Regions from separate parts of the Homo sapiens genome. Here region 2 is linked to region 1. Evidence: promoter capture Hi-C in human tissues and cell types (Jung and others, 2019). All regions are on one chromosome and are shown on one strand. Each heading gives the region's core, a stretch centred on a gene start or on the middle of the fragment in contact. The rest is flanking DNA. Distances are from core to core; before and after follow the strand shown. Region 1 holds the start of SC5D (sterol-C5-desaturase). Region 2 overlaps MIR100HG (mir-100-let-7a-2-mir-125b-1 cluster host gene).

The links. The method cuts DNA at HindIII sites, captures the fragments that hold promoters and counts their contacts. A contact is called where the count stands out against the background at its distance.
Region 2: a fragment that was not itself captured here is called in contact with the fragment with the promoter of SC5D in region 1 in 1 of the 25 tissues and cell types used here (hippocampus).

What each region holds. Positions count from the first base shown.
Region 1 is chr11:121,291,354-121,294,442 of GRCh38, reverse strand. It overlaps SC5D (sterol-C5-desaturase), which reads right to left and starts at 1,672. Exons shown (of 5, transcript NM_006918.5): 1 at 1,627-1,672. RefSeq lists a silencer at 1,661-1,710 and an enhancer at 1,881-1,930. The HindIII fragment of the contact is 8,425 bases long and covers 1-3,089 here.
Region 2 is chr11:122,092,853-122,095,941 of GRCh38, reverse strand. The region is part of intron 4 of MIR100HG (mir-100-let-7a-2-mir-125b-1 cluster host gene); the gene reads left to right. Among named protein-coding and RNA genes, the nearest start is that of MIR125B1, 5.4 kb to the left of the region's middle. The HindIII fragment of the contact is 3,331 bases long and covers 1-3,089 here.

The sequences.
Region 1 (3,089 bases), core at 423-2,922:
ACTTGCATAGGGTCATAAGAGTAAATAAATGCTGGAGCTAGGATTCAAATACACACAATCTAGTTGCAAAGTACGTGAACTTCTGCCAAGTTCTATAGCCTCTTCACCACTACTTCAAGTCGTCAACTCCTGAATTTTTAAAAATGTTCAGTGCCTCTACAAGCTCATATAATTTTAAGGGGTTATAAGCCCTGAAGTTAGGGGTCCCAAGGACCCTAAATTAAGTACCACTGCTTCAAACAGAAACTTAAATACTTTGTCCTTGCAGAATTAAAGAAACTTCTTCTTAAAACTCAGTTATAATAACAATATTAGGCTTAGAACAACTCAGTCTACCATTATCTTTTTGCCCTACTTTAAAAGTATAGAAAATGATAGCTAATATTTATTGAGAACCAGGTATTATTTTTGTATAACCTCATCTAATCCCTATACCTCTATGAGATAGGTACTTCTATGCTCCCCACTTTATAGATAGGGAAACTGAGGTCAGAGTATTTAAATAACTTGTTCAGTAGCAAGCAACAATAACAGAAAAAACCAGCTGGGATGTACATTCCACAACCTTTCTCTTTGCTACCACGTTATGTTATCTCTCAAGATGTTTTATATGCAGATGAGGGATTCTGAGTACCACCCCATGCTAATTAATTACATTACATAACGAATGGAAAAGCACTCTGTAAATGATCAAGGATCAGTTATTATTTACTAGGTATCAATCATTAGAAACTTTAAAAAATGATAGTGATATAAAGACAAATAACTTCCAGAGGGTTTCCTCTAAAAGTACCGAGCTGCCACAAACTTTCCAGTTTGGAAACTCTATGTACTGAGGTCTTGTTTTCTTCACTTACACCACCTCCAAATCTACTCTGCTGTAACACAGGGATGTCAGTATACATTATTTTTCCTTTTATGATGCAAAAGGAACAGATTATTTCCCTTTTCCTTTCAGTCTCCTCAGCCCCAGATTGCTGTCCCTTCATTCTAATTACGCCGCAGCAACAGAGGCTTGCAATGGTCAGGAGTTCTGATACCGACCAGTTCTTCAGCCTGATTCTTCTGGCCTTTAAAAGAAAAAAACCCTCCCAGAACGAAGGGAAAAGTAAAGCATTCGTGTTCAGCAGCCAGACCAGAATTCCCTTGAGTAAGAGATCTGCAACACCCAACATCAAACACTGCATTTTCTTTAAGCCCGTCCACGGTCGGCTCCTTCAAGTCCAGGCCTCCCTATCGGCCCCGCGATCCCTCCCAGCGCGAGCGGAAGGCCCCTCCGCCCGGACTCCCAGGTGGCGCAGCCCTCCAGGCCCCGAGGTCCCCCGGCCCAGCCCTCGCCGCCAGTCTTCGGGATGCCAGGCTACCTGCCAGCCTCTCCTCTCACTCGGCGCAGGACTCGGATCCGTATGCTACCGCGATCCTACCATCCGCCCAACGCCTAGCACCCAGAGGGCACTCGCTAACCAACCGCGGCGCGGAGAAAAGCCGTGCTGCGAGGACACCTTCCGCCTCGCCCACCCGAGTCCCAGGCGCTGAAGTCTCTCCATCTTCTTTTATTCCATCGCCCCCCGGCCCAGCCCGCTCAGGTGTATTCCGCTTCCTTCCCCGCCCACCCACCGTCCCCACCTGGAGGTGGTCCGCCGCCGCTCCGCACGCCACTGCTCTGCAAACTGTCCTAGCAGCTGGGCAGCCAGCAAGCGGGCCGGGAGGCTGGAGCGGCCAGCCAATCAGCGACCGGCGCCATAAGCTGATATGACGGCAGATCGCGCGAAGGGCCTGCGCGCAGCTCTCCGCGGTCACGTGGGCGCCGCGCGCTCGGCCACGCCCCCTTTGTCCTCTGACTAAGGGGAGGGCGGGCGCCCCATCCGAGTACCTTTGCGGTGGAGGATGCGGTTTCGGGTTTTGCGTTTGTTTCTTTGCTTTCTTTTTAAACTAGCTCTTGTGTCATTCATGGTGGTACCAGGCAGGTTTACGGTGTTTATACAAACATTCCTAGAACGGGTGCCCTGCGTTGAGGGAAATAGACGACACTTCCTTTGACGCGAATGTCTGGGTCGTTTTCTCCCTCAAGGGAGGAGGTGCAGATGTTCCCAAACAGGTGCTCAAGGTTTTAAGACGTAGTCCCCCCGATTTTCTAGCGCTGAATGGCTGGAGGCTCCGCGAGCCGGTGTATGTAGGGGTCTAAATGGTGACAAGATGAGGGTAAACATGGACAGAAACCTTTTCACGATACAAGTTGTTGAAAACCAAGGTTAACGCAGATCTAATTGGCTTTGATTTGCTACACATGAATCGAGCAGCTCCGATTTCCTGAAACAGAGCTGAGCAGAGGAGGGTGGCTTCACAGGCAGAAGAGGACGGAGGAAAGCAGAAATAAGGAACCAAAAGATCTGTCGTTTCAGAGTGACTTTCCTTAAACAGAGATTAAAACAGAGGGGACTGACTTGTGATACCAGCTCAGCAACTTCAAAGTGGCAAACTGGGCCACTTTACCTATTACATAAATAATATGGGGAATACATGACAGAAATGAGGGATTTTTAAGGGAAAAAAATAACATGATTCGATCTGCCTTCAAAAGACTTTTCCGGTAGTTAAACTTCAAATGTACATAGGATACTGGACAAAGTTCAAATGAATTTAAAATAGTGTAGGTGGTTTTTTTAAAAAAGACTCATTATATAAATAAAAATAAATTTTAAAAAGTTTTGAGTGTCTACTTCGTTTAACACATCGTACTGAACACCGGGAATGGAAAGAGATGTTACAATAATGACAAAGACATGGTTCCCAACCTTAAAAAGCTTATGTGCTGTGGGAGAAATGGGCATGTATAAATAACTATGTTGCTTATTACAAGGACAGGAAATAAACAGTAATTGGTGGTATAGGCTGAGCACAGAGACAAAATGGCTATTCTGATGAGGGAAATTAGGGAAGGAACATTGTTTTGCCCAATGAAATGATTTGAATGGACACTTTAAAATGTTATTGAGCATAGATGATAAAACATTTATTAAACGAATAAAAGCTCAAAAGTGAAATGTTATAAGCAAACATCAAATATCCTGAATCTCTAGAATTTTATT
Region 2 (3,089 bases), core at 239-2,738, 800 kb before region 1:
TAATTTACTTCTTCCTTGTTAAAGACATTCCTTGCTGATTAGAAAAAAAAAAAAAAAATTAAATCGTCGTTTTACCATTGCACTGCAGTGGAAATGCACTAGAGAGATGTTCAAGGTATAGTAACACTGTTGCGGTTGCATTCCAAGTCACCGACCTGTGCCTCTTAGCTTATTACGAATGGAATTGCCACTTAATTTCTAAGAAGAAATTCATTTAAATGCATAAAGTTTGGCATGTAGACCAGGAATATATGATTTTATTTTACAAACCCCAGGGCTCCACCTTCCCGGCCCACCCTCTTTCTAAAACCACTTACTGAGCAGAACAAAGGAAACAGCTAACTATAGAGGCATCATTAAGTGTGAACTGCAACAGCATGATAAAGTATGTGATATGACAACATATTTTATTGCACAAAAGTGCAGATAATTAAATAATTCTATAGTAACCCTGACTAATTAGCCGAAAGATCTTGAAGGAGGAATCAAGAAAATGGATCCAATCACCTTGAATAATATGCTTCGTTCTCCAAGATCACAAATTTATTTTGGTTATTTGATGATTGATTAACTCATATAGAAAGATGAGGACAAAAGCCTGTTTCTCAAAGCAGAGCTTTGATCTGGTGTCCTCTTTAGGACAAATTAATCCTATGTTTTAGAAGTGCTGAATTTAATGTAGGGCTTTCTGTTTTCAGTCAAAGATATAACCTGCCATTCTGTTGAACATTTCTCTATTATCGAGTGATCTAAGAAATTATCAACCCTTAGCTTCTTATATCGCTGCCTCAAAATATAGATGTAGCCTCGTTCACATTTTCTAATGAGTCTCCTGTTTAAGTTTGTTTCTTATTGCTTGAAGCAAATAAATATCATGGGCACAGAAGGAAGAGAATAAATAACCGTGCTGAATATTATGTATGGTGAAACCCTCCCCCCTTCCTTTATCAAGGTAATATTCCTAGTGTTCATTGTTCATTGGTCCTTTAAGAGAGAGCTTTAGCTTTTACTTGAGGGTTGTAAGCACATTAGAGGAATAATTCCCTTTGGATACTATACAGAAGGAGCCACCTGCAAAATGTTGATGCTGTTATTGAAGTCTCAAGTGGAATCAGCTTTCAAAAAATTAGATATTAGATACATCCGATATAATTTGCAATGTGTAATTATACTAATGTGCATATAGTTGTCTGTTGCTTTACATGTTGCCTACTTGAGTTTTTTTCTTTTCTTGTGCATTTCTCATCATTGAAATGGTTCCTGAGTAGAATCTTTTTAAAATAAGCTTATTTTAAAAAAATTCTTTGTTAATTAATATAGGGATACGAGGACTCTACGATCTGTGTTCTTATGCAAGAATAAATATGTGCGACCTAGATGTTGGAAATTAATTATCTCTGAAAGGGTTATCATTGTGGACACTTGCTTAATTTGTAAAATATTTGCTACTCTTGATTGATTTAGTCTTTTTCTGACTTTAGACAACTTGAAGTAATTGAGAATATTAGTTCCTTTGTTGGAATAACAAAATAGAATGCCAGGGAAATGACCTTAGGCAGAGATAATAATTTTAATTTAACCAAAGTAATCAAAACAATAACAATAATCAGCAATTTCTTTTATTGTTTTTCACTGTTTTGCATGGCACATGTTGAATACTGAAACTCTGCCTTAGGTTATTTGTGCACTAACATCAACTTCCCTTTTAACGTCTTGACATGATGTCCAAGGTCTACTGATGGCCCCACTGGAGAGCCTCCTTCCAGGGAACTGATCCCTGAAGATCTACCTATTAAGGAATAGCCCAGTCAGAGCAACAGCGAGTTGGCTGGTCAGCCTGGTAGTTGGCTCAGTAGGTGAAGAGGCTCTTGATGCAAATTTGGAGAATCATTACCATCAGGTCACAGAAGGACCCCGGGCAAGGCAATACAAGGGTCTCGATTTATGCTTATGTGTTTGGGAGACAAAAAGGATTCCAAGGGAGGCTTATATTGAGATACAAGATATGACTCATTGCAATTGAGTAGGCATAGAGCCCAAAGAAAGCTGATTTGTAGAACAGTTGACTCATAGTAGACACCTAGAATATGGTCATTCACATATTTATACTATCTGTTTCTCAAAATTTGTTTTAATGATGGAGTCCCTATTAGAAAGAGACATTTTGCGTGATGTATAGCTACCTAATACCAAAGCAATACAAGGTTTACTTTTCACCTGCTCATGTATTCAAGGATTTGCCATCATTAGATATCCAAATGAGCCATAAAAAATTGTGCAAAATGTTATTCCTTAATACATAATATTTTAATTTATTAAAAAATGAGTTTTACAAATGAGTATCAAAAGCTTAGCACCCCATCATCCCTGTCAATGTTCACAAAATAATAAATTCTAAAATCTTTAAGATGTATATTTAATTACTCATCCAAGATCAGTTATTGCATGCTTAATCAGAAAAATACCTATTAACGTTTAACACTTAGTTACTTTACAGATTAAAAAACATATTATACCTGCCATCTAGGGAGCCAGCATCCTCGGTGTATCAAAAGTGTTTAGGGCAGAAAGCAGTGATGTGTCATAGTGTACCCCTTTTGGTGTGCCTGACTTATTAGACATCTTCATTGTGTAAGCATGATGAAGAGGCTGATGATAAGGTCTTCAGTTAAAGAAACATCTACCTGAGAAGTATATTTTATTCATAACAACTTTTATAAAAAAAGAGAAACATTAATAACAACTCTTCTCAAATACCCTTATCTTTAAAATGCATGGGTTGGATTAGTTGGGCTCTAAATTCTTTTACAGCTTTAAGAATTTTTGAAGGTATTCTAAAGTATGGAGGCATAGGAACAACTCCAGAACCGGTGGATCTGGAGCTCATTTGTTCCAACAGTCGTCCTTCAAAGTTATATTTGATTCCACCTCCACGTTCTGTATTTACTAACATATTTTGCGTTGATGCTAAAACAGTAAGGACTGGAGTTCACTTTCAGGAAGGGGCAGTAGCAGAAAAGAAGAACAGCTGAAGAATGAAAAAAGCTACACAGTGGGAGAAGCAAATTCTTGATCTGAGTTCTAAGCCC